Regions from separate parts of the Homo sapiens genome. Here region 1 is linked to region 2. Evidence: promoter capture Hi-C in human tissues and cell types (Jung and others, 2019). All regions are on one chromosome and are shown on one strand. Each heading gives the region's core, a stretch centred on a gene start or on the middle of the fragment in contact. The rest is flanking DNA. Distances are from core to core; before and after follow the strand shown. Region 1 has its middle 43 kb from the start of NPIPB4. Region 2 holds the start of IGSF6 (immunoglobulin superfamily member 6).

Region 1 (6,599 bases), core at 1,706-4,205, 160 kb after region 2:
AAAAAGTTATTGACCTAGACAATGAACAGCTATAAAAAAAGTTATTTTTCCATAATCCAAAGTTAGCCCAATGATTAATTAAATGCACAATCTGAAAAAAAGTAATGCAACTTTATAGTTTTTAAATGGCTAAAAATTCCTAGATTTCACCAGGAGTTCAATAAAGCAAGTTATAATTCATCAAACTCACAGCAACAAATGAATCTAGACACCTCCATAGGGGTCATTACGGGGAATATATGTCTACCAGACCTGGTGCCAATATGCATCTGGAATCTTCCATGGTAGCAGTCTCTCATATATAAGGGGAAGGTGGTATTTTAACAAAGAAGTATTAAAAAGAAAAGAAAAGAAAATTCCAAGCAAGCAAAGAGTAATGACTTACGAGGCACAAAATGGGAAGCAATCATGCTGAGACACGGTCTGAGGAAAACAGTCTATGCTGATACAAGATTACCAAGAAAAGCCAAATACTCTTCCACTACTGTTTGACTTCTATTCAACCAAGGCAATCTCTAGAGTGGGGGAAGAAAGATAAAAGCAGCATGTTATTAATATAACATATACTATTACCAAAGTTCTGAATTACATACTTGACAGTAAAATAAATGGTGAACTTACCAATATAATACTGATAAGTTGCTCAAAGTCTTTTGTCAAGTACATGACAGAAGAACGGAATTCTAGCAGCCAGTTGATGATCTGGTCATCCTTAAGTTAAACAAAGAGTACTTTCAAAATCACAAATCCTCTAAGATAACAGAAATTTACAGCTATCTTATATCAATCATTTATCAAGAATAGGTTGGGGGGAAAAGGTCACAAACTTGGAAGGAAATCAAAACTGGGTATTAAAACAGAAAAAGATGTCACAATAAACTTAATCGTTTTAAGAAAGTAATCTAGTAACTCTAATACACAGGAGAAAGACTTAAATGCAATACTTCAGCCTGATCACTTTTGTTTGCCCTGAAAAAGTGAAATCACCTCAAATGTTGACACCTGGGACTTTTAAAAACTGCAGAATTCTAGCAGATTGAAATATTAGAAGATCACAAAGGAACAATAGCTACCTCTATTTCCTCTATATTCAAGCTGACCAGGAAGCATGCTGATAAAATTCAGTCTAGGCTGATCAATTGGGGTCATGAATAAACATAACTTTTCTAAACCAAATCTGTGGCTGAGTTTAAATATATTATGATGTGTTTGTTCTGTATAAATGATAGCCCCATTCCTCCATGAAATATTTTTCAGGCAATCAAATTACTGTTCATAGTAATTGTTAGTGACATGAGAAGAACTGCTAAATTTGAAACGCAAGGTATAAAATACAGTGTCAATTATGTAAAATATTACTATATTAATTATATTCATGCATATATACTGCACAGGACAAAAACCATTAAGAAAAAGCCCCTAATTTGTGGAAGGCTTAGACATATAAATAAAAGCAACACAAGGTCATCATACCTACAGGGATATTCATATGGAGTTATCATTTAGTGAGAATACACCATATGCCAGGCATGGTGCCTGACACTCCGCATATATATCTTCTTCTAATCCTAAGAACTCTGCAAGATGTTTAGTTATTCCCATTTTGCTGTTCAGGAAGCTGAGGCTAAGAACGATTAATAAGCAATCTGCCCAACCAAGAGGCCAGTAAAGAAGCAGGTCCAAACCCATCTGTCTCGGTCAAGGCTATCCTCTGTCCACCATCCCACATGCCTCCCTATATGCGGAGAAGAAGCTGTCCCCTTTTCCCCACCTTAATTCAGCTACTGAGTGCTTACTATGCCATATCCATGTGTCAAACTCCCACAGATCAACCATTTTCTGATGAAATCCCAAGTAGCCTGGCAGTAAAATAAAGTAAAACCACAACTCATTTGTACTATGGTAATTTCATATGTCCAAAACTGTTAAGGATAACATTAACGGTAGCTCACTAAGGCCAAAGGCATGTAGAAAACAAGCTAAGTTAGTGTGTAAATAAAATAATCTATCCTATCTCTTTTCCACTAAAAAGACTGCAACAAAACTATAAGGATAACATTTAAACTGTACCATTTTTAAAAGTAAATCAGGCTGGGGGTGGTGGCTCACACCTGTAATCCCAACACTTTGGGAGGCCGAGGTGGGTGGATCACCTGAGGTTGGGAGTTCGAGACGAGCCTAACCAACATGGAGAAACCCCGTCTCTACTAAAAATACAAAATTAGCTGGGCGTGGTGGTGCATGCCCATAATCCCAGCTACTCGGGAGGCTGAGGCAGGAGAATTACTTAAAAAACTCGGAGGCAGAGGTTGCAGTGAGCCAAGATCATGCCACTGCACTCCAGCCTGGGCAACAAGAGCAAAACTATGTCTCAAAAAGAAAAAAAAAAAAGTAAATCAGTTGCAGACTTTGATGCTTTAGTACTGAACTATTATTATTTCTACTAGCAGGCAGGAACAGTGGCTCATGCCTGTAATCCCAGCACTTTTCGGAGGCCAAGGCAGGAGGAAACTGCTTGAGCCCAGGAATTTGAGACCAGCCTGGGCAACATAGGGAGACCTCGTCTCTAGAAAAATTAGCCAGGCATGGTAGCACATGCTTGTGGTCCCAGGTGCTCGGGAGCCTGAGGTGGGAAGATTGCTTGAGCCTGGGAGGTTGAGGCTGCAGTGAGCCATGATCGGGCCCATTACACTCCAGCCTGGGTGACACAGCGAGACCCTGTCTCAAGACGAAAAAAGTTCTACTTGCAACACTCCACACAACTAGTGCAATTCTTGGTATGTCAAAATACCAAGAATGAGAACTGCTGATACAAAATACAGTGGAACACAAAGAAAATGTCCCTTTGTATCTGGGAAAGGAGGCAGGGGTCAGGAAAAGCTTTAAAGAGAAAGTGATGCTTCAGCTGTCTTTAAACAGTAACACAGTTGAGTCTTTTCTGGAAGTTCTGCTTCTTACAGAAGGAAAAGTATGTTTTCAGAAAACTGAAAAATGTTCAGTATGGCTGGCATGTATAGTGACCAAGCCAACAGATAATAAATCTGGGGAACAAAGAAGCACCAAATAGACCATGGAGGGCCTTGTAAACCAGATCTGTAACTAGAGAGATCTGGAAGTGTGGGAAATAGACTCAATGAAGGAACAACCATGTGCTTAGAGAGAACCAGGGAAAGCTCCATGAAAGATGGAGCCCAGCCAAGAGTGGACATGATAAGTTTGGAGCATCTATGATGATTCTGGGTAAATGCATCTAACAGACAGTTAAGAAACAAGTCTAGGCCGGGTGCAGTGGCTCACGTCTATAATCCCAGCACTTTGGGAGGCTGAGGCGGGTGGATCACTTGAGGTCAGGAGTTCGAGACCAGCCTGGCCAGCATGGTGAAACCCCAAATCTACTGAAAATACAAAAAAATTAGCTGGGCGTGGTGGCACAGCTACTCAGGAGGCTGAGGTGGGAGGATGGCTTGAACCCAGGAGGCAGAGGTTGCAGTGAGCCAAGATCATCCCACTACACTACAGCCTAGGTGACAGAGCAAGACTCTGTTCTGCCCATCCCCAAAAATGAAAATGAAATAAGTCTGGAGCCCACAAGAGCAATCTTGGCTACAGACACAAATATATTAGGACACAGGTAGATTTCAAAGCCATGAAGGGAGATGAGGAGATCACACAGAAGAATCAACAGAGTGAGAAAAGAGTCAAGTTTTGAAGCCCAATCAACACCAAATTTAAGATCAAGAACCTATCGAGAGATACTAGAGCTTAAAGGATCACTGGCCGGGTGTGGTGGCTCACACCTCTAATCCTAGCACTTTGGGAGTCCAAGGCGGGTGGATCACGAGGTCAGAAGATCGATACCATCCTGGCTAACATGGTGAAACCCCATCTCTACTAAAAATACAAAAAATTAGCTGGGGGTGGTGGCGGGCGCGTGTAGTCCCAGCTACTCGGGAGGCTGAGGTAGGAGAATCACTTGAACTCGGGAGGTGGAGCTTGCAGTGAGCCAAGATTGCGTCATTGCACTCCAGCCTGGGCGACAGAGCAAAAAAAAAAAAAAAAAAAAAAAGAGAGAGATTAAAGGATCAGAAGACAGGAGGATCAGAAACACTGAAGTTTTAAGAAGTGGGTGGCCAACAGTGTCGGCTGATACAAGGAATACAAGGCTTAAAAAAGTAAGTCCACTGAGGCTGGGCTCAGTGGCTCACACTTGTAATCCCAGCACTTTGGGAGGCCGAGGCAGGCAGGTCACCTGAGGTCAGGAGTTCAAGACCAGCCTGGCCAACATGGTGAAACCCCGTTTCTACTAAAAATAAAAAAATTAACCAGGCATGGTGGCGGGTGCCTGTAATCTCAGCTATTTGGGAGGCTGAGGCAGGAGAATTGCTTGAACCCAGGAGGCAAAGGTTGCAGGGAGCCCATATCACACCACTGCACTCCAGCCTGGGTGACAAGAAGGAGACTTTGTCTCAAAAAAAGTCCACTGAAATCAGCATGTAAAAAAAAAACATGGGTAATCTGTCAGGGTAATTACTACAGTGATAAGAACAGTGGACTTAAATGTGAGTGAGAAATGATACAGCACAGTCAGCTGGAACAAAAACAACAGATGACAATTACTGCCCTTACTTTGAGTCAGAGACTGTTCTAAGTGCTTCTTGCATATTAGCTCATTGAATCCTTGTTAAGTATTTCCATGTTTAAAGCCAGGCACAGTGGCATGCACCTATAGTCCCAGCTTTTTAGAAGGCTGAAGAGAAAGGATCATTTGAGGCCAGGAGTTCAAGGCTGTAGTGCACTATGATCACACCTGTGAATAGCTAGAGCAACACAGCAAGACCACATCTCTTAAAAAACAAAACACTCCATATTTTTTAAATCTCTATTGTTTTCTTGGTTTCACACAGTGGAAAATAGAGGCAGAGAGGTTAAAACAATTTGCTCAAGATCACACACTGGATAATAAAATTGGAATTTCATTCCAGGCAATCTAACTACCACTGCCATGGTAATAAACCATTCTCTTCAAAACTGGGCAGTAAAGGAAGAATGGTGAAACAAAATGTATTAAGGTTTTACTACATGATAGGTGTATCTCGAACCTGGAAATGCTGAAACAGTGGTTTGTTTTTTTTTTTTGGTTTGTTTTAGCTTTAAAGAGACAAAAGAGTTGCATGCAGCATGGAGGAAAGAGGTAGTAATCTAATAGAAAGGAAGCATTAGAGCAGGGTTTCCCAGCCTCAACACTGTTGTCATTTGGGGCTGGATCACTCTTGGTTATGGGAGGCTGCCCTGTGCACTGTGAGATGTTTAGCAGCATCTCTGTCATTCACCCACTAGATGCCAGTAGCACCCTTTCCTCCCAGTTGTGACAAAAATATCTGCAGCCATCACCAAATGTCTTCTAGGGGGTAAAACTGTCCCTGGTTGAGAACCACCAGATTAAAGTAAGGGAGGACCATGGAGAGAGCAAGTTCTGCAGAACAGAATGGGACCCAAAGAGCAAACTATGTCTGTATAAAGTGGCAATAATTTTGCTAATGATCAAACACAAAATTAATTACCTTTATGTCTGGATCTAACAGCTGGTTCTTCAACAACTCAAAGTCATTTGTTTCACCCTTAACAAGAAGGGGAAAGAATTAAGTTATGCTTTTGTTTCCTGTTTAGTATCAACAGCAAGACTTTTAACCGTACTTTAACATCAGATGAAATTATAAAAGGAACACTAACTTTCACATGTCAATTGCGGATTATAAAATCATGACTACAAAAATTTAAACACTCATGTTAGTGCAGCCAGAGGGCTTGGAAAAAGGAAAATGATAAACTACATTTAGCTATACTTCTGTATTGACATTTGAATATAATAGTTGATACTCCTGCGAATTCTCAAAAAGCATGAGGGGAAAAAACAGCCAGCTCTAATGATCTAATTCAGGAGGATCTAAAAAAGTATTCACTCAAATATGGATACAAATGGATATTTCATATAAACATACGGTTACTTAACATTTTCCCTCTACTGCTGAGATATAGTAGAAATGCTTCTAAACTACCACAAAAACAAAAATCCCTATTCAGAGAACCGGTTTACTGTCCCAAAGTAATGCTTAGGTAAGTTCCTCAAAAAATAAAATGCTGTAGGCCAGGCATGGTGGCTCACATCTGTAATCCCAGCACTTTGGGAGGCCAAGGCGGGTGGATCACAAGCTCAGGAGTTTGAGACCAGCCAGGCCAACATGGTGAAACCCCGTCTCTATTAAAAAAATTAAAAAATTAGCCAGGTGTGGTGGTGCGTGCCTGTAACCCCAGCTATTCAGAAGACTGAGGCAGGAGAATTGCTTGAACCTGGGAGGTGGAGGATGCAGTGAGCTGAGGTCACGCCACTGCACTCCAGCCTGGGTGACAGAGGAAGACTCCAGCACAAATAAATAAATAAATAAAATGCTGTAATTGTTTTTAATTCTAGCACTTGCTAAAGTTAAAAGATGCTTTGTAAATAAAGCATTTGAAGAGGTGAAACCTCAGTAAAGACATTATTACTCTCTCATTATTACCTGTGAAATGGGCCAAGGTGGGGGAAAAAAAGGACACTATTA
Region 2 (6,307 bases), core at 2,714-5,213:
ACTCGAGTGCACAAATGGAAAGACCCGCCCTAAACCCTTCTTTTGCGGCAGGGGAGGCCATAGGTAAAATAGTATTGGTTGAGACAAATTGGAATTTGTCAAGTTTTTGGTCTGAGTTCCGCCTGGTCATATATTCCCAAATGGTCCTATTTGTGTGAGTTTGTCCTTTGCTACTGTAAATGAAACTGAAAAGTCATCCAAGTGGTCTGATGCTTAATTTTCAGACAGGGGCTTTTTTCTCTTAGCGTTTCTCTTATGGATCCCCATTCATAACAGCAGAGGAATTAAAGTTAGAATCATGGCGTTTGTGATGCGAGTCTCTTCTCACCATGTTTTTTTGTTTTTGTTTTCATTTTTGTTATTGTTTTTGGACAGAGTCTCTGTCTCCCAGGCTGGAGTGCAATGGTGCAATCACGGCACACTGCAACTGTGACCTCCCAGGTTCAAGCCATCATCCTGCCTTAGCTTCTCAAAAGTAGCTGGGACTGTAGGCCTGCAGCACTGTGCCCAGCTAATTTTTGTATTTTTTGTAGAGACAGGGTTTCACCTTGTTACCTAGGCTGATCTTGCACCCCTAAACTCAAGCGACCCGCTTGCCTCGGCCTTCCAAAGTGCTGGGATTACAGGTGTGAGCCACTGCGCCTTGCTCTCTTCTCATCATGTTATATTTTAGTATTTGTGCAACATGAGATGAGCTGGGAGCTCTGTGGTGACCTGATAAATGCAAACCAGACAAGAGGGTGCAGTCACCTGGAGGAGGCCTGCAAGCTTCTCTGAGCTTCGTGTCTGTGGGAGGCCCAGCTCAGCTCCATCTCCAGCCAAGGGGATTGGATTCCCTCTCAAGTCTGAGAAATACAACCTCATGTCTCCTGCCCAGACTCAAGCACCTTACAAGTACAGTGAAACATTTTATAGTATATACTGAGTGGAAATTTAAAATGGAATTGGGTCTGCCAAAACTTAGCAAAGTTAAGCACTGTCTCAGTCTCAAGTCATCTTTCAGATAATGTTTTTATTTTTATTTGTAAAATTATTTTTAAAAAGTGGACGATTCCATTATTTACACATTTTTATTTTTGAGATAGGGTCCCACTGTGTCGCCCAAACTGGAATGCAGTGGTGTGATCTTGGCTAACTTACTGTAGCCTTTGTCTTCTGGGCTCAAGCAATCCTCTCACTGCAGCCTCTGGAGTAGCTGAGACTATAGGTGTGCACCACCACGCCTGGCTAATTTTTTTATTTTTAGTAGAGACAGGGTTTTGCGATGTTGGCCAGCCTGGTCTTAAACTCCTGGGCTCAAGCAATCCACTCGCCTCAGCCTTCCAAATTGGGTAGTGTTTTTAAAAGGGAAGCCAAAGAGCCAGGCGTGGTGGTGTGGCCATTAGTCACAGCTACTCAGGAGGCTGAGACCGGAGGCTGATTGAGCCCAGGAATTCCAGGCTGCAGTGAGCTGTGATGGCACCACTGCACTCCAGCCTGGGCAGCATTGTGAGTCCCTGTCTCTATTAAAGGAATAGAGTCTGGACGTGCACTCCAGCCTGGGCAGCATTGTGAGATCCTGTCTCTATAAAAGGAATAGAGGCTGGGCATGGTGGCTCACGCCTGTAATCCCAGCACTTTGGGATGCCGAGGCGGGCAGATCACCTGAGGTCAGGCGTTCGAGACTAGCCTGGCCAACATGGTAAAACCCCATCTTTACTAAAAATACAAAAAATTAGCCAGGTGTGGTGGTGGACGCCTGTAATCCCAGCTACTTGGGAGGCTGAAGCAGGAGAATCGCTTGAACGTAGGAGGTGGAGGTTGCAGTGAGCTGAGATTGTGCCACTGCACTCTAGCCTGGGTGACAGAGTGAGACTCTTGTCTCAAAAAAAAAAAAAAAAAAAATAGAGGTTGGGGTGGCGGGGATAGCTGACTTTCAACACTTTTCTTTAAAAACTAGTAGTATAGGATAAAAACAGGTATTTGTAACTTTGGAATTTCATATCTCTACTTATTTCCACCTTCTTCCCAATTAGGCTATGTGTGGGAGAAAACCAATTGTAATGATTTCCTCTGTGAGCAGGAACTTGTGATGAAACTGTGGTTCCCTCCCCCAACCAGTTAGGCAACCTATTAACAAAAAAGAGAAGTTTGGATATGTCACACCACAGCCTGCTTCTGTGAATGATTTCTTTTAAGAATCCTCATATTCTAGGAATTGTTTTTTAAACACAGTATCCAATGAAAAGGTTGAAGATTTATTTCCTCCATGGAGGGAATAGAAAGATTATTCTTATTATTTTAAAAAACCATATTGAGGCTGGGCATGGTGGCTCATGCCTGTAATCCCAGCATTATGGGAGGCCGAGGCGGGCGGATCACGAGGTCAGGAGATCGAGACCATCCTGGCTAACACGGTGAAACGCTGTCTCTACTAAAAATACAAAAAATTAGCCGGGTGTGGTGGCAGATGCCTGTAGTCCCAGCTACTCGGGAGGCTGAGGCAGGAGAATGGCGTGAACCCGGGAGGCGGAGCTTGCAGTGAGCCGAGATCTTGCCACTGCACTCCAGCCTGGGTGACAGAGCGAGACTCCGTCTCAAACAAACAAAAAAGCCATATTGAAAGTAGGAAGAGAACTAATTCTTGACATTTAAACAAAGCTGTCTCTCTATCTAGTAAGTAAGAAGTAAGTAAATGTCTTGCTCTGTTGCCCAGGCTGGAGTGCAGTGGCACAATCACAGCTCCCTATAGCCTGAAAGTCCTGGGCTCAAGTGATCCTCCTGCCTCAGCCTCCCAGGTGGGTGGGACTGCAGGTGCAGTGCAGGTGCCATCACGCCCAGCTATTTTTTTTTCTTGTGTAGAAATGGGGGTCTCATTATGTTGTTCATGCTGGTCTTGAACTCCTGAGCTCAAGTGATCCTCTCACCTTGGCCCCCAAAGTGCTGGGATTACAGGCATGAACCACCACGCCCAGCCCAAAGCTTTATTATATTAGATTTCAAATTTCTAACATATCAAAGTAGCGAAGTAGTACAGTCAACCCCCTGCCATCACATGGCTTCGACCCAATCTTGTTTCTTTTCTCCTCCCACCTACTCCCTCACTCCCATATTATTTTAGAGCAAATCCCAGCCATTTTATCTGCATCTTTCAGAATATATCTCTAAAAGACAGGAATTCTTCTTTAAAATAATGCTAATTAAAATAGTCTATGAAAGTAATATATACTTATTAGCAAAAAACAGGTTATTAAAAGTAGAAGCAAAAAGTCACCCATAGTCCTTTTGCCTGAAATAACTCCCATTAACATTTTGATATATTTCTTCACAGATGAGAAAAAATTAAGAACTTTCCCCCCTTCCCTGCCCTATAATCCAAATTGTGTGGGCAAATCTGAGATTACTAGATGTATTGGAAATCCTTTCTCTTTCATAGATAAAAAAACAGAAGTAGACAGAATTTTAAAAATAGATATACTATGGGATGGCTATTGGAGTCATGGCAGTTTTTTTTTTCTTAAATGAAAAGTACTTTTATAGAAATTGTTCTTTGAAAATATTCAGCAAATAATCATTTATTGCTTTCTATGTGCAGATCAAGTTTGTATGATAATTAAATTATTGATAACTTATACCTACGATTTTAAGAATATTTTCAACCCTTTGGTCAGATTGTCTCCAATTAGCATAATAGCAAAGAGACTTTTCAAGGTTAATATGAAACTTTTTCTCAGCTATTTTTTTATTGTCTATTTCTCAGGGGAAAAAGGAAACTTATCCTCTTAGGCAGTTTTCATAATGTTATACATTTAAAAATTAATCTGAAGGAGCTTAAAATATAAATGCATTAGGTGAAAAATAGCAGTTGATTTAAATAAAATGAAGGAGGAGAAGAAAAAGAACCTTACCGACACAAAATAGAATGAGATTGGTTTGCAGATGGCGAGCGATGTTGCTTCTGCTCGCAGTCCCCATTTCTGTGTATGCCGGGGCGGGTTGGGGTGTGTATTTGAAAGGAAAGTTGGCTTTCTTTTTTCAGAAGGGAAGAAGAGCTGAAGAGAGGAACCTCTTATGAAGGAACCATAATCAGGAACTTTTTGAAATTGTGCAAGGATGGCTTCACCATTTAACATTGAGATTTTGGCCTGGAGCACATTTAGAAATGTGCATATCTTTTTTTTTTCCATGGATTTTACAGTTGTCATAGGTGTTAGATGTTTCTGGGTGAGATTTTGATTTACACCTAGCACATATTTCCAGGAAGGAGTATTGTTTGACAAATAATTCGTACTTGGATTTTTCAGAACAGTTCAGTCACTGTCTAGGGTACCTGCTCTGGGTGCCACTCTGGGCCAGTAACTGCTGGGAACAAAGAACAGCAGAAGGAGAAGTGGCTTTGTGTAGAGATGAGAAAAGTTAGTAAACAACACATTCTAATGCAGCGAATAAATAAATTGTCTGTTATTAACTTTTTGTACTCCAGTTTTGAATCCAAAGACACCTGCCTTCCCCCCTTTTTTGACAGGGTCTCTATCACCCAGGCTGGAATGCAGTGGCAAGATTGCAGGTCATTGCAGCCTCAGCTTCCTGAGTAGCTGGGACTACAGGCATGCACCACCACCCCTGGCTAATTTTTTTTTTTTTTTGTAGATTCTGTGTTGTCTAGGCTAGTCCTGCCCTCAAGCGATCCCCCTGCCTTGGCCTCCCAAAGTGTTAGGATTACAGGTGTGAGCCACCATGCCTGGCCCAAAGACCCCCTTTTAATGTGTTGAGAAACAAATATGTGGGCCCTCTGTCCTCTGTGTCCTCTCCCCCAGCACTTAGTGGTGATTCAGTAAGGGTCTTCTTTGTAAAGCAGCAGAAACAGACTCAGGCTGACTTAAAAGGAAATTTATGCAAACATTTGAAGGTAGATCCTAGAGTCACTGGGAGGGCTAGTGAATCTTGTGTGGGGTCCACAGCCAGGAAGAATGCCTCAAATCACACCATAAACAGGTCTGAAGAGGATGCTACTGCCACTGCCAAACACTAGGTGCCATCAGCCCTGTTGTCAGCATCGCTCAACCACTGCCCCAGCCCCTTGGTCTCACTGCCATTGCTCCACCCCCAGAGAAGGAGAAGCTCACATCCCCACTACTCTGGGTCACTGGCTCTCCATTCCAGGGCATGGGCAAGTGTGCCTGGCTTAGGCTGCGTGCCAGTGCCTCAGCTGCACGGCAGGCCAGGAAAGCGGCTCCCAGGCCTTGTGTCTCTCCCAGACTCTGGGCAGGCAATTCCCCAGACATGGGAAGAGCGTCATCTGCACCACTGAAAATTATGAAAAATCTCCCCACCATGATATGATGTCTGTGCCCTTGGCATCTGCTCATGATATATTTTCTCATTAACAGAAAGTTATTCTCAGTCTGTTTTGTTTTTTTTTTTTTTTTTTTTTTTGAGACAGAGTCTCGCTCTGTCGCCCAGGCTGGAGTGCAGTGGCACGATCTTGGCTCGCTGCAAGCTCCGCCTCCCGGGTTCACACCATTCTCCTGCCTCAGCCTCCCAAGTAGCTGGGACTACAGGTGCATGTTGCCATGCCCAGCTAATTTTTTTGTATTTTTTTTAGTAGAGACGGGGTTTCACTGTGTTAGTCAGGATGGTCTTGATCTCCTGACCTCGTGATCCGCCCACCTCGGCCTCCCAAAGTGCTGGGATTACAGGCATGTGCCACCACGCCCGGCCTCAATCTGGTTTTAACACTTCAACAGATGTATGTAGTTTTTGTATCACCATAGCACCTAAAAAGTACCCCCAAAGTTAAATATACTGTCATCTCTGTGTGTGTGTCTGTAGTCAGTGCCAGGTTTGTATGTGAATTTGAGGACCTTCCCTAGTCCCCTTGTCCCCCAGGCATCTCCTGCTCATAGGTTTGGAAATGACTGATAGAGGCTTCATCTCTAGTCCAAGAAATGCTGGACGGTGTATCCATCCTACTGTTCCATCTCTCTCTGGTCCTGGAGCTTAATGTTTATGAAATTGTTCTGAAAAGGCAAAGAATGAGTCAACTTCCCTAGAAAAACTCCCCAATGATCTGCTTTTCTAAATTAAAATCCTTCATGAGCCTGTTTTTATTTTCAGCCTAATAAATCTCTCTAGGTAGTAAGTTGCATAAGTTTACTATGCCAGTGGTATTTTCTTGCATTTGTCCAAAACTGTCCTTCAGATATTACATGTTGCTCTCTGTTTCAGTATTCCAGCATTTAATGACCAGTTTTCCAAACCCATTAACCATTACACCCTGCAGTCAGTCTATTGGCAGATACTACCCAAAACTGTCAGAGAAGATAAC

Evidence for each region. The method cuts DNA at HindIII sites, captures the fragments that hold promoters and counts their contacts. A contact is called where the count stands out against the background at its distance.
Region 1: a fragment that was not itself captured here is called in contact with the fragment with the promoter of IGSF6 in region 2 in 1 of the 25 tissues and cell types used here (hippocampus).

The regions. Positions count from the first base shown.
Region 1 is chr16:21,811,901-21,818,499 of GRCh38, forward strand. It overlaps the pseudogene RRN3P1. Among named protein-coding and RNA genes, the nearest start is that of NPIPB4, 43 kb to the right of the region's middle. The HindIII fragment of the contact is 9,076 bases long and covers 1-6,599 here.
Region 2 is chr16:21,648,645-21,654,951 of GRCh38, forward strand. IGSF6 (immunoglobulin superfamily member 6) reads right to left here and starts at 3,964. Exons shown (of 6, transcript NM_005849.4): 1 at 3,888-3,964. The coding sequence starts at 3,954. The region is part of intron 4 of METTL9 (methyltransferase 9, His-X-His N1(pi)-histidine); the gene reads left to right. The HindIII fragment of the contact is 6,081 bases long and covers 1,865-6,307 here.